Linked DNA regions of Homo sapiens: region 1 is linked to region 2. The links are contacts of gene promoters, found by promoter capture Hi-C in blood cells and fetal thymus (Javierre and others, 2016). All regions are on one chromosome and are shown on one strand. The core of a region is centred on a gene start or on the middle of the fragment in contact, and the rest is flanking DNA. Distances in the headings are between cores, read along the strand shown.

Evidence for each region. Contacts are between HindIII fragments. The CHiCAGO score rates a contact against its expected background, and 5 or more counts as called.
Region 1: a fragment that was not itself captured here is called in contact with the fragment with the promoter of ACBD7 in region 2 in 2 of 17 cell types (neutrophils and M0 macrophages); the score reaches 5.5 in neutrophils.

The regions. Positions count from the first base shown.
Region 1 is chr10:14,484,966-14,491,609 of GRCh38, reverse strand. LOC124902380 (a long non-coding RNA gene) reads right to left here and starts at 4,340. Exons shown (of 2, transcript XR_007062062.1): 1 at 4,214-4,340; 2 at 3,135-3,904. The HindIII fragment of the contact is 499 bases long and covers 5,017-5,515 here.
Region 2 is chr10:15,085,274-15,092,911 of GRCh38, reverse strand. It overlaps ACBD7 (acyl-CoA binding domain containing 7), which reads left to right and starts at 4,136. Exons shown (of 4, transcript NM_001039844.3): 1 at 4,136-4,195. The coding sequence starts at 4,184. ACBD7-DCLRE1CP1 (ACBD7-DCLRE1CP1 readthrough) reads left to right here and starts at 4,136. Exons shown (of 8, transcript NR_144471.1): 1 at 4,136-4,195. RefSeq lists a silencer at 3,962-4,351. The HindIII fragment of the contact is 6,812 bases long and covers 1-5,703 here.

The DNA.
Region 1 (6,644 bases), core at 4,017-6,516, 600 kb after region 2:
AGTTACCATGTTTGTCAATGTAAACCCAAGACACCCTCATCTTCATCTTCTTGTACCGGTCCCCTAGCATGAGGCTAAGAGATCACAAATATCTCCTTATAGGAAATTCCCATTTGGAATTCCCTTGAAAAACCCCATTCCCATAAAAGCTAAACAAATGGGGGTGAAGTGGAGGATAACCCACGCATATCAAATTACTTTTCACTTTCACTTTATCAGTGCTAATTTCTTTTGGCCCTAAGCTCACTTTTCACATCTGATTTAAATGTTTAAACTATGTTTCTGCTTTGGAGAGCTAGGAGACATTGGAGTGTGCCCACTGTAAGTTGGAATGTCCTTTGTTCTTGGAGACGGTACTTTAGGATGCTCCTGCCAGAAATTTGGAAGAAAGGCCTTTGGACCATTTGATGAGGTAGAATCTATGCAGCCATGTCCTAGTCCAATCAGCTTTCCCTGTAAAGGATTTTATTATTGTTTTAATAGGAAGAATGTGTTCTTTGAAAAGAGCATCACGTGAGGAAAATGATAAACATCGAGTAAGAAAAATTTAAATTCTTTCAAATCAAAGACTTTATCATTTAAGTCCCTCCTCCCTCCCAAGTCACTGGTCATGCCTCATGCATTTTGCAGCCCCAGTGCCTGGCATGGTGCTCAGCCATAGCCTCTAGCAGGGGCTCACTGAATCCTGTTGAATGAGACAAATGTGAGGGCAAGTGTCCAGGCTTTGATTATTGGTTTGCCCCAACCACACTTTCAGAATCCCTGAATGAAGAGACTTTTTCTTTAGCTTGCTAATTTGTGAATTTTGAGTGGAAAAAAGTAACAAAAGCACAAAGCAATAAAGTCATAAATAACCTTAGAATTGAGTTAGTTGAGATTAAGACCTTAAAGGCTCAAGGTTCTGTTGGCATTGAAATGAAAAGCTGTTGTGCTAATTAACGTGAAATAGCACATTATACATATCATTATTAAAGTGAAATGTGCATACTGTATAACAGGTGAGTTTGGACAGCTGTAAAGGTAATTAAAACAGATGTCCTGCATCATTAGGCTTCAAACACCTGCATTAGATCTGAAGGAGGTACTAGGAGCACCTCCCATGATGGCTGTAGAAACAAATTTTTGTGTCATGAGTATAGAAGAAAAACAGTATCTGTTCATGGAGGACACTCCTTGTGTTTTCCCAAACACAGATTTCCATAAAATATAAACCACAAGAACAAGGATTTAAAGCAATGTGCAGCCAGTGAGAAATATTTTTTCCCTTTTCCTTTTTGTTTAGCTGTTTATTAAATTGAATAATTCTGAAGCCCGTCTTCCCACACTCCAGGCATACCATTTGGGGACAGGCAGGCACAGATATATGCCTCGGAAGCCCAGGAGGTTGAGAGCCTGGATAATTTTTCCTGATGAGGGTTGCAGCTCTTCCTGGGTTGCTTGAGAACTTCCTTGGCTTCTGAAACATCCAAGTGCCCCGGGAATTAACATCTTTGCCTCCTCATGAACCCATCAAACCAAGATCCAATTGCATCAGCAAGTGTACTTCTTACTGTGTATAGGTAGTAACTCTTCTTTCCTTTCCTTTCTTTTCCTTTCTTTCCTTCCTTTCCTTCCCTCCCTCCTTCCCTTCCTCTTCCTTTCCTTTCCTTTTCCTTCCTTCCCTCCCTCCCTCCCTCCTTCCCTCCTTCCTTCCTTCCTTCCTTCCCTCCTTCTCTTTCCTTTTCCTTTGTCCTTTAATTCTTTCTTCTGCTCTTGTTTTGATTTATAAAGACAAGAGTGTTGTGGCTGAAGCTTCTGTGGCCTTCACACTTGATTCTACAAGAATTTGCTAAAAACCCCATAGCAGCCTAGAAAATCATCAATCATCTTTTGGATGACATGTGTCAGGCCACTGTTCCCTCTTTTACTGGAAAAGAGGCTTTCAGCCAGCCAAAGGGTCAGGGAGCAAAGCAGAGTGACTATGACATGCAATTGCCTTCCAATCTGGAAAGAAATGCCATGTGCCACAGAGGCAGTGGGAGATCCTGGCTTTCCAGCTATACAGGGCAGGTGTGAAATCCTGTCTCATCTGTGCATTCACTTAAAAAACAGTCGATTGCATACTGTCAACTTAAAAATCACCCAATCTATACATTTGGAAAGGAGATCTTATTTATTATAAAGGGTTATAGCCTGCAAGGTGGTCATCTTGACTGGCTGGGAAGCACAGCCTAATATGCTATTCAGTGGAAATAGCGTATAAGACTGAAAAATAATATTATCAACCCCAAGGCAAGCACTTGGAGGAAATGAAACAGGAATTTATGTTGAATGGGTTGGTCTACAGATTACAGGAAAAGCTAAGCATTATCACAAAGTGAGGGCACATGCATGATAAGCAAACATGCACGTTACATGTATTCCATGTTCACTTTGGGGCAGAGACTTAACATTTAAGTGTATTCAAGTTAGACCCTATACATCAAAAGGTGAAGCAGGGACACCAAGATCCAATTGCATCAGTGAGTGGACTTCTTACTGTGTATAGGTAGTAAACCTTTCCCTCCCTCCCTCCCTCCCTCCCTTCTTTCCTTCCTTCCTTCCCTCCTCCCTAGCTTCCCTCTGGCACTGAGTGCACAGCCTCTGTAAACTGGCCACAACCAGTCTACGGTCAGCAGCCTCTGATCAGGACAAAGTTACTGAAATCAGTCTCTTCTCCAATCAAAGCTGTAGTGATGGCTGGTGGGATGGGGGTCAGTTAATCAGCATCTGGAAGTACACGAGCTGCAAATTTTTTTTTTTTTAGATGGAGTCTCGCTCTTGTTGCCCAGGCAGGAGTGCAGTGGCGCGATCTTGGCTCACTGCAGCCTCTGCCTCCTGGGTTCCAGCGACTCTCCTGCCTCAGCCTCCTGGGTAGCTGGGATTACAGGTGCCCGCCACCACGCCTGGCTAATTTTTGTATTTTTAGTAGAGACGGGGTTTTGCCATGTTGACCAGGCTGGTCTCGAGCTCCTGACCTCAGGCGATCTGCCCGCCTCTGCCTCCCAAAGTGCTGGGATTACAGGTGTGAGCCACTGCACCTGGCTGCAATTGTTTTCATATTGCTTATGTCAAGGCCAGTGTTTGTTTAGCTGCTAGAGAAAAATGAAACCTTGTGGCCGTTAGAACATAGTTTATTCTTTTAAAGTGTAGGGTGTGTGGCTTAACCCTTGCCTGGCAAGGCTTTAGGTCCTGTTCATAATTTGGTATCTTATGGCCACAAAGCATCCGTATCCCATCAGTCTGATGATTTCTATTTTAACATGAATGCTGGTCAGTTGTTGTAGCTAAACCACAAAAGGGAAGGGGTATGACAAGATGTGTCTGACCTCCTCTTCCGTCATGGCCAGGAACTTCGTTTTTAAGCTTTTTCTGAGATTCCCTTAGCCAGAAGCGGGTCCATTCACTTGATTGGAGGTCTCTTGTTTTCTTACAGTGTCAAAACTTGACTAGTTGTTTATAAGAAAACATGGAACTGTGGTCATTCTCCAGTTCTCGGTACTATGGGCCAAGTCCTGTTATAGGCACTGGTGAGGTATCAGTAGATACACCAAGTTTACTGTCATCATCACAGAGCTTGCTAACTAGTAGAGGCAGCTAGATAATAGACAAAGTGAGTACATTACTATATTTTGTTGATTCTTAGAAGCATGATGTTTCACATTAGCAACTTTGAAACTGGGGTGCATTCTATAATCGCTGGCATCTTATCATTGCTGCTGGCCGGGCAGCTGCCTTTAAGGAATTGCCATTTCCCCCGAAGTTGCAAACCTGAGAAAAGCTGCTCATAGTGTTCCTGCTTCAGCTCAGCTGGGCTCTTTGCCAGTACTATGCGTAAAGGATTTATTTTGCCATTCAAATGTCTTCAAAAAGATTCCACGATGATCTGAAATTGAAACAAAAGGTTATTGTGTACATGGAGAGGCATGGAAACCCAAAAGCAAGTATTCATCTTTGGGAGAGTGACCACAATTCCGTGTTTCCTTATAAACAACCAGTCATGTTTTGACACTGTAAGAAAAGAAGATACCCGCAAGAGGGTGAAGCTTTGTCATGTCTTACTACTGAGCTATGTTTGCAAAAGGACTGCCTATCACATGCAAAGGTTTTCAAGGCATGAGAAGTCTCTTAAAATCTCCAAATTAGTAAAAAAAAAAAAAATTGGTGAGGTGTTGAGGTAAGAGGCAGGACTCACCTCCAGAGGTGGAGCTCGGACACCAGATCAGATTGAGGACTAGCTGAAACAGGGCCAGGATGAAAGCAGCATTCAATCAGACCCACCCACCAGTGTACCAGGTCAATTTACTGTTGCCATGGCAACACTCGGGAGGTACTGCCTCTTTCCACGGCACCCAACCATCCAAAAGTTACTACCCCTCCCGTGCATAAACCACTCCTTAATCTGCATGCAGCTAAACGTGTGTATAAATATGGCTGCAAAATTGCCCTGCCCTGAGCTGCTACTCTCTGCCTACTGGGTAGCCCTGCTCTGCGGGGGCAGTCACAGAGTTGTAACGCTAAGACTGTTTTCTTTTACTTTTGGCTTGCCCTTGAATTCTTTCCTGGGCAAAGCCAAGAAGCCTTGTGGGCTAAGCTCCATGATGGGGCTCAGCTGCCCCGCATCAGTGTGACCTAATGTCAAGGCCATGACTCAGTTAGCCGCCCTTCTCTTTTGTTGACATAAAACGTAATAGTGTGCGTCAACATTCATGTCTTACATGAAATATGATGTGTTGTGTGTTAGAAATATTATGGAGGAGGTGAAACGGGGAGCACTGTGGGGAGGAGGATGCAATTTTAAGTGATGTGGCCGTGGTAGTGCTCACTGAGAAGGTGATGTTTGAGCGAAGACCTAGAGGGGTCCAGGGAATGAGCTATGTTTCCTTCTAGAATAGAATATTTCGGGAAAAACAACAGCAACAACCAACCAAACAAAGAAATTCCACAAACAAATTATGTAAGGGTATACTTTAGCCAAATACAAAATAATTTAAAGCTTTTATGGGGAGGGAAGCTCCATGAAGACAGAGGTTTTGTCAGTTTGTAACTATAGATTTTCACGCAGGGCACGCACCAGGCACTCAGTCGATGTTTGTGGAATAAACGAATAAACTTTTAAAAGGGAAATAAATGCTACATTATATAGTGAGCAATAAAACCATTAACACATTTAAATGTAGTTGATAGTATAGTTTGTGAGGTTTAACACATTTTCAAAATATTTGAAAGAATAAGCAGTATATGTCATTAGGGAATTGTAAATTCAAAAAATGAAATACTATTACGCACCTATTGAAATGGTCAGAATCCAAAACACTAACACCAAATGCTGGCGAAGATTTGGAACAACAGCAATTCTCACTCATTCTGGAGGAATGCAAAAATGGCACAACCACTTAGGAAGACAGTTTGGCAGTTTCTTACAAAATGAAACATACTCTTACTATGTGATCCAGCGTTCACGCTCCTTGGTATTTACCCAAAGGAATTGAAAGCTTATGTCCACACAAAAACCAATGCACAGATGTTTCTGGCAACTTTCTTCATAATTGACAAAATTTGCAAGCAACCAGGATGTTCTTCCATAGATGAATGGATAAACCGTGGTATGTCCAGACGATGGGATATTATTCAGTGATGAAAAGAAAAGGTGCTATCAAGCCAACAAAGGCATGGTGGAACCTCAAATGTATATTACTAAGTGAAAAAGCCAATCTGAAAAGGCTACATACATACTGTGTGATTCCATCTATACGACATTCAGGAAAAGGCAAAACTATAGAAGATAGTAAATAGATCAGCGGTTGCCAGGGGTTGGGGAAAAAGAAGGATAAATAGGTGGAACATAGACGATTTGGGGGCAGCGAAACTGTTTTGTAAGATGCTATAAGGGTGGATACATGTCATGATATATTTGTCAAAAGTCATAGAATGTACAACATCAAGAGTGATCCCTAATGTAACCTATGGACTTTGGATGATAATGATGTATTAACGTAGGTTCATTGAGGATAACAAATGTACCATTTTGGTGCAGGATGTTGATGATGAAGAAAGCTGTGTATATGTGGGGATGGGGGGGTATATGGGAACTTTCTCTGCTTTCTGCTCAAGTTTACTGTGTTCCTAAAACTGCTAAAAAGCATAAAGTCTATTAGAAGATAAAAAGGGTATACGGTGCAAAATAAAAGAAGCCCTATAATAATAATTATAATCTTGGAACTAAATTCAAGGAGCCATCAAAAGGAGGGGGCTACAAAAGGTTGCAAACACCTCATCTTGTTAGACTTGTTGAAAGGGGGATTATACGTATTATTTAATTATTAATGATGCAAAAATATTTTGTTGAATTAAGTTAGCTAAAAATGTAGTAAAATTCTAGTAAAATAGAAATAGGATGTAGAACTTCAAAATGAATATGGAAAAGAACAATGAAAAATGTAATGAACCCCATATATGTTAGGAAAGGAAAAGAAAAACACGAAGAAAATACAAATAGAAAACATAAATGGAGTTGGCACCATTCAAGCTACCAGGACAAAGACAGATTCTCCTACTGAATGACAGGGCAGTTCTGGGTCTGCTGAGGGAGCAGGAGAAGGCTGCAGGTGGCTTCCCGTAGGACC
Region 2 (7,638 bases), core at 2,887-5,386:
CTGTTTTATGAAAACGGGGAAATTTGAAAGACATTTAATCCTTCCTTTTTATCCCCCTCCTCCCTTTCTTCCCCCCCCCCCCGCCTTTTCCTACAGGTACAATATTCATTGAATTTTAAGTGTTGGGGATAAAGTGGTGAGCCAGAGTTCTAAAGGAGGAGAAACGGTAAACAAAGTAAACGATTTAAGTTGTCAGATGATTCAAAGTGCTACAGAAAAAAAGCAGGGAAGGCCAGGCGCGGTGGCTCATGCCTGTAATCCCAGCACTTTGGGAGGCCAAGGTGGGCAGATCACTTGAGGTCAGGAGTTCAAGACCAGCCTCGCCAACATGGTGAAACCTCGTCTCTACTAAAAATACAAAAATTAGTTGGGCATGGTGGCGCACACCTGTAATTCCAGCTACTCGGGAGGCTGAGGTAGGAGAATCACTTGAACCTGGGAGGCAGAAGTTGCAGTGAGTCCAGATCATGCCACTGCACCCCAGCCTGGGTGATAGAGTGAGACTGTATCTCAGAAAAAAACAAAAGCAACACGAAAAAGCAGGTAAGAGTGGAAGGGGGTGCTAGGATGGGTGATAAAAGGCCTCCTGAGATGACAGATGAGCAAAGACCTAGAGGAGTGGAAGCACTGAGCCAGGCCGACCCTGGGAAGATAATTCTGAGGTAGAGACGGGAGAGCAGCAGTGCGACAGGCCTGTTAGAACAGCCGGGAGGCCAAGTGGAGCGGAAGCCCTTTGAAGGCAGGTAAGAATGAGAACAGAAGAAAGACGGAGAGAGATGGCCAGAGGCTCATAGACGAGAAGACCAGGCTAAAGCTATTTCTTGTCTCAAAGTCTTCCTGGAGGTGTTGCCATGTCGGCTAAGTCTTGAAGGAGGAGTTGGCTGTTAAGAAAGTGGGAAAAGGAGCCAGGTATGGTGGCTCGCGCCTGTAGTCCCAGCACTTTGGGAGGCCAAGGCGGGTGGATCACTTGAGGTCAGGAGTTTGAAACCAGCCTGGCCAACATGGCGAAACCCCATCTCTACTAAAAATACAAAAATTAGCTGGGCATGGTGGCATACGCCTGTAATCCCAGCTACTAGGGAGGCTGAGGCAGGAGAACCACTTGAATCCGGGAGGTGGAGGTTCCAGTGAGCTGAGATGTCACCACTGCACTCCAGCCTGGGTGATAGATTGAGACTCCGTCTCAAAAACAAGAAAGAGAGAGAGAAGAAAGAGAAAGAGAAAAGAAAAAATCAAAGAGAGAAAGAGAGAGGGAGGGAGGGAAAAGAAAAGGAAAAGAAAATAAAAAGAAAAGAAGGAAAAGGGTGTGCCAGACAGTGGAGTGGCAACTATCTACCAACGTGGAGAAAGGGAACTTGAAGTCCTTCAGTTACCTGGGGTAGAGCATCCATGCCTGTGGGAAATAGCGAGAGATGTGGTTGAAGAGGTCAGCAGGACCTGGTCCATCCCGGAGGACCACATGTACTGTTCAGCCAAGGAGAGCTAAATTGTCATTGCAGAGAAGAGAGCAAAACCATGGATGCACCATTCGTGAGGCTTGGGTCCAACCCTACAGCCATTACATCAAAATGGTGGTGGGAATTAGGGATCAGACTGGGGTTTGTATCTTTTTTTCCCCAGGTAATTGAATGCACTGCCAGGGTTAAGAAATGTTCATCGTGACAGTACTAAAGATTCAATGCAATCCCTATCAGAATCCCAAAGGATTTTTTTTATAGAAAAAGAAAAACCTATTCTGAAACTCATGCTATGGTTTTTATTTTATTTTATTTTATTTTATCTTATTTATTTTTGAGACAGAGTCTCACTCTGTTGCCCAGGCTGGAGTGCAGTGGCAAGATCTTGGCGCACTGCAGCCTCCGGCTCCCAGGTTCAAGCAATTCTCCTTGCCTCAGCCTCTCAAGTAGCTGGGATTACAGGTGCCCACCAGCATGCCTAGCTAATTTTTGTATTTTTAGAAGAAGGGTTTTTGCCATGTTGGCCAGGCTGGTCTTGAACTCCTGACCTCAAGTGATCTGCCCACCTCGGCCTCCCAAAGTGCTGGGATTACAGGCGTGAGCCACCGCGCCTGGCCCCTTCTTGCATCTCAAGACAAGACACACATGGCTAGGCAATGAGATGGGGAATGGCAACCCAGGAGAAGAAAATACTTTCAAAAGAGGTCTTAAAAGAACATTCTGGATTTAGAGAAAAAAGCAGAGAACAATGTAGCGTCCATCCCTCTCCTCTTCTGGATTCTTACAGTGACGATAATTCCAGAATGTCTCAGCTGAAGATATGGACTGATACCTGAACTCAGTGCAGTATTTCCTGCTGAAACACCACAGACCGGGTTCTGCCCGCAGCCAGGACTAGGCTAACAGAGAAAGGCCTGGCTGTGCTGAAGCTGCCATGAGCCTCAGTACCCCCACGGGACCTTTCCCATCATCTAGGACTTCAAACACAAACAACTGCCCAGTAGGTTTTTCTAACATTTTGCTTTTGGTCCTTCACTTGGAAATGCACTGATTTCACCAGGAAAATATTTGTGAGGAGAAAAAAAAAGATTTTCATGAAAACGCAAATATTTTAAAAATGTAGCTTTATGCAAAAGCAAGCTGAAAGGTTTCTTGTTGCATTGTTGTACGTTGAAGCTCAGTCACTTTGCTGACATTGAGTTTCTTTTTTCTCCCAGTCACCCTTCTCCACCAATGCTACTATTTATGCGAAGTGTCGGAAATTAGCTTCTCATGTGACCACCCAATTCGGTTCCAGTCCTTTGGAAATGTAATCCTATTCGGTGTGTCTGCAGACTTGGAGTGACATTGGGTTTGTTCCCCTAGAAAACTGAGTCAAATTGAATAGGCGTTTAGTCCTGTGCCTTTACCATAATTAAAAACAAGTTAAGCTGATTATAGCATGTGTCCAGAATTTAGGTGGTTTTGCTTTATAAAGAGAAGAGGTGCAAACCACAGGCCACTTTCTCTCATGATAAACAGCGCCTGGAGGCAGCGTGGAGGAGACACATCCATCATCCACGTTTCTAGGAATAATGGACATGAGAGAAGTATGTATAAAGAAGGAATCCTGTGCTTCGGGAAGCCGAGGTGGGAGGATCGCTTGAGGTCAGGAGTTCGAGACCAGCCTGGGCAACCTAGTGAGACGCCCCCCCCACCACCTCTCTTAAAAAAAAAAAAAACACATATATATATATTTTTTAATTTGCACTTTTAATTTATAAAATTTTTAATTTTTAACATTTTAAATATATATAAATTTATATATAATTTTTAGAGAAAAAATATATAATATATATATACCTAGGAAGACCCCAACCTCTGAAAAAAATTTATATATATAAATTTTTAATTTATAAAATTTTAAATACATATTTACTTATTCTTTTTTTTTTTTGAGACGGAGTTTCACACTTGTTGCCCAGGCTGGAGTGCAATGGTGCAATCTTGGCTCACCACAGCCTCCACCTCCCGGGTTCAAGCGATTCTCCTGCCTCAGCCTCCCGAGTAACTGGGATTACAGGTATGCGCCACCACACCCGGCTAATTTTGTATTTTTAGTAGAGACAGGGTTTCTCCATGTTGGTCAGGCTGGTCTCGAACTCCCGACCTCAGGTGATCTGCCGGCCTCAGCCTCCCAAAGTGTTGGGATTACAGGCGTGAGGCACCGCGCCCGGCCAATACATATTTACATGTATAAATTTTTTTAAATTGAAAAAATTACATATGTATTTTAAGAGAGTTGGGGCGGGTCTCTCTAGATAAATATATATCTCTCTCTCTATATATATATATATTTTTTCTCTCTCTCTCTCTCTCTCTGTCTCTCTCCTTCTTTCTTTCTTTCGAAGGCATTCCAGGGGAGGCCTGTGCCCTACGGAGACCTCTCTGGGTTTCCTGCAAAGAACCGCTTGAGAAAGAATAGAAGAGAGAGCCAAGAGCGGAGAGAAACTCATTTAAATTCTCCTGTCTTCGCCTTTCCATTTGCAGCCTGGGGAACCCGGCGTGCAGTACCGCTCACCGCCCAGCCTCGCCCCCGCGCCCGCGACCAATGGGAGGCGGCCGGGCCGGGAGCGCGGCCAATGGCAGCGGCCGGAGGAGACGCGGCCGTTTAAGAAGCGGTGGGTGCGAGAGGGGGCAGAGCACCGGACGACAACAGCAGCAGCAACAACGCGGCAGCCGCCACCATGGCCCTGCAGGTACCCGGGGCGCGGGGAGGCCACGCGGGAGGGGCGCTCCGCGAGGGGAGTGCTTAAGTGGGGCTCCGGGTGGGCTTGGCGCCCCTGGGAGCGGTCGGCGGTGACCCGGGGGACACGCCCACTCCTTCCCCAGCGCCCCAGATGGCAGTGTAGACCGCACCTGTGCCTGCTGACGGCGAGCCAGGGCTCCCAGGGCAACCCTTCCGGACCCCAGGGGCCGGGTGAGCGGAAAAGCAGGCAAGGCAGGAGCGCCGGGGAGCACGGAGCGGGCCTCCTCCTCTCCGTCTCCGAGAGGGAGTCGAGATCCCCCGCTCCCGCCCCTTCGCTCGTTGGGACCTCCAGGACCTCTCTTAGTGTCATACTGAGCAGAAGAGATCTGTGAGGCTCCAATTTAAAAATACTGTTTTATAGGTATGTGAAAAAAATTGTTAAGGGTGGAAAACTTTGGAAAAGACAACAAATATAAAGTAATAATTACTGATAATAATCCAATGATAATTCCTTCACCCAGGTGATAATCACTGCTACATGCTAGGGTAATTCCTAGTATGTCCTAGTATGTTATTTTCCATGTGTGTATGTGTGTGGCATATATCTACACACATACCTATGATGTTATTGTGTATATAGTTTTATTCCTACACGTAAAACAGTAATATGAGCATTTTCTCATTATTAAATATTCTAAAATGTAATTTTATTTTTCTTTTTTGAGACAGAGTCTCATTCTGTTGCCCAGGTTGAGGCGCAGTTGGTGCGATCTCTGCTCACTGCAACCTCTGCTCACTGCAACCTCCACCTCCCAGGTGTAAGCGATTCTCATGTCTCAGCCTCCGCAGTAGCTGGGGTTACAGGTGCACGCCACCACGCCCGGCTGATTTTTGTAATTTTTTTTTTTTTTTTTTAAGATGGAGTCTCATTCTGTCACCCAGGCTGTTTGAGATGGAGTCTCACTCTGTCACCCAGGCTGGAGTGCAGTGGTGCAATCTCAGCTCACCGCAACCTCCGCCTCCCAAGTTCAAGTGATTCTCCTATCTCAGCCTCCCAAATAGCTGGGATTATAGGCGTGCGCCGCCACTCCTGGCTATTTTTCTCTATTTTTAGTGGAGATGGGGTTTCGCTGTGTTGGCCAGACTGGTCTCCAACTCCTGACCTCAAGTGATCCACCCGCCTTGGACACCCAAAGTGCTGGGATTTCAGGCGTGAGCCACCACGCCCGGCCTCTAAAATGTAATCTTTTACATGCACAAAATTTCATAGAACGTGGCTCACTTCTTTAACCATTTCAGTCAGGCAAGACGTTATCCTGCGTAAAGTTGTAATACATACTTCAGGGCCATCTGGGTTCAAATGTGTGCCTCACTTCTACTTAGCCTGTGACATAGTTAACCTCTCCGTGCCTCAGTTTCTTTATCTAAAAATGCAGGAGAGATACATTAAATGAGTTATATGTATAAAGCATTTAAAACAATGTTTGGCATGTGGTAGAAGTCCAATAAGGATAAGCTTGTGGTGGAACATTTAGTTTGTTTGTTTTGAGACAGGGTCTCACTCTGTCACCCAGGCTGGAGTGCAATGGCATGATCTCAGCTCACTGCAGCCTTGACCTCCTGGGCTCAAGTGATCCTGCCACTTCAGCCTCCCAAGTAGCTTGGACCACAGGCACCTGCCACCACACCTGGCTATTTTTTTTTTTTTTTTTTGAGATGGAGTTTCACTCTTGTTGCCCAGGCTGGAGTGCAATGGCGCAATCTTGGCTCACCGCAACCTCCACCTTCTGGGTTCAACCGATTCTCCTGCCTCAGCCTCCTGAGTAGCTGGGATTACAGGCATGTGCCACCACACCCAATTAATTTTGTATTTTTAGTAGAGATGGAGTTTCTCCATGTTGGTCAGGGTGGTCTCAAACTCCTGACCTCAGGTGATCTGCCCGCCTCAGCCTCCCAAAGTGCTTGGATTACAGGTGTGAGCCACCATGCCAGGCTTTCCTTTTTTGTATCTTTTGTAGACATTTGGTTTTGCTGTGTTGCCCAGGCTGATCTCCAACTCCTGAGCTCAAGCGATCCACCCGCCTTGGCCTCCCAAAGTGCTGGGATTACAGGCATGAGCCACCTTGCCTGGCTCAAATATTCTTGTGCGTGACTTATGTGTTTATACTGAACTCTCTCCAAAATGATCAAAATGTTCTTTCTAAAATTTCCTGAAAGATCTGAAAGTTTCCTTTTTAGCTTAGTACTTTGGTTTTCTGTTGTTGTTTGCTTTTAAAATACTTGCAACGAGGAATTAAGAGTTGAGGAACATCACAGAAAAGCAGTATGCTAAGAAGTATTAACATCGACCCATGATATTATCTACTAATAATGCATTTGCGTGTCAACAATATTGGGGGAAGGTAACTTTTTTTTTTTTTGAGATGGTGTCTTGCTCTGTTGCCCAGGCTGGAGTGCAATGGCGTGATCTTGACTCACTGCAACCTCCACCTCCCAGATTCAAGCAATTCTCCTGCCTTAGCCTCCTAGTAGCTGGAATTACAGGTGCCTGCCACCACGGCCGGCTAATTTTTGTATTTTTAGTAGAGACAGGGTTTCACCATGTTGGCCAGGCTGGTCTTGAACTCCTGACCTCAAGTGATCTGCCTGCCTCAGCCTCCCAAAGTGCTGGGATTACAGATGTGAGCTACCACGCCCAGCTGAAAGTAACTTTTAAAAATGACAACTAATAACTGGCTGACATATTGAAATCTCTTCTGTCTTTATTACCTCACTGGCATGTGCGGGGATCATATTGGTACTAGTGTTCTGCCAAGATGCTCACTGAGTGGAAATGAGAGGAAAGGTGACTAGTTCAGGGTCCCCAGTCTTCTATTTATTTACACAAGAATAAGTATACTGGCAGACTGTCATTGGAGTAGCAAAACAAATGGAATTTCTAATTCGGCTATAGCCTCCTGATTTTATCTGAAAATTACAATATGTTTCCATCCTCACCAAAGCATTTAGGAGAGCTGATGTTTATCCTAAATGGACAAATTTCTTTCCTAGATGATGAAGCTAAAAAACAGACTTCTTCCTCTAGAATATGTATCTTTTCAAGTCTAGGGTACTGATGATTTTAACAACTGGCAAAAAAAGACTAACCTCTTCCCCCAGCCCACATTTGTGTGACCTAAGAACCCTGCAGTTCCTTGAGTGTGAGAATTTTTTATCTTCTTAATTGGGTTGCTCAATGGGAAAGAATTGCTCAAGAAGACCTTGCCAACCCCCTATGTGGGATGACCATGTTCATTGCAGAAAGTAAAGTCAGGTGAGGTGAGAGCCACCCTCGGAGGCTGTCTTCAGCGGGGCTGAAATGTGAAAGGTAATTTACACAGCAGCCCGCCTAGTCAGCACGGAAGGATGCACCCAGGATGTACCCAGTGTGAGTGATGCTGGCGTAACTTCTAC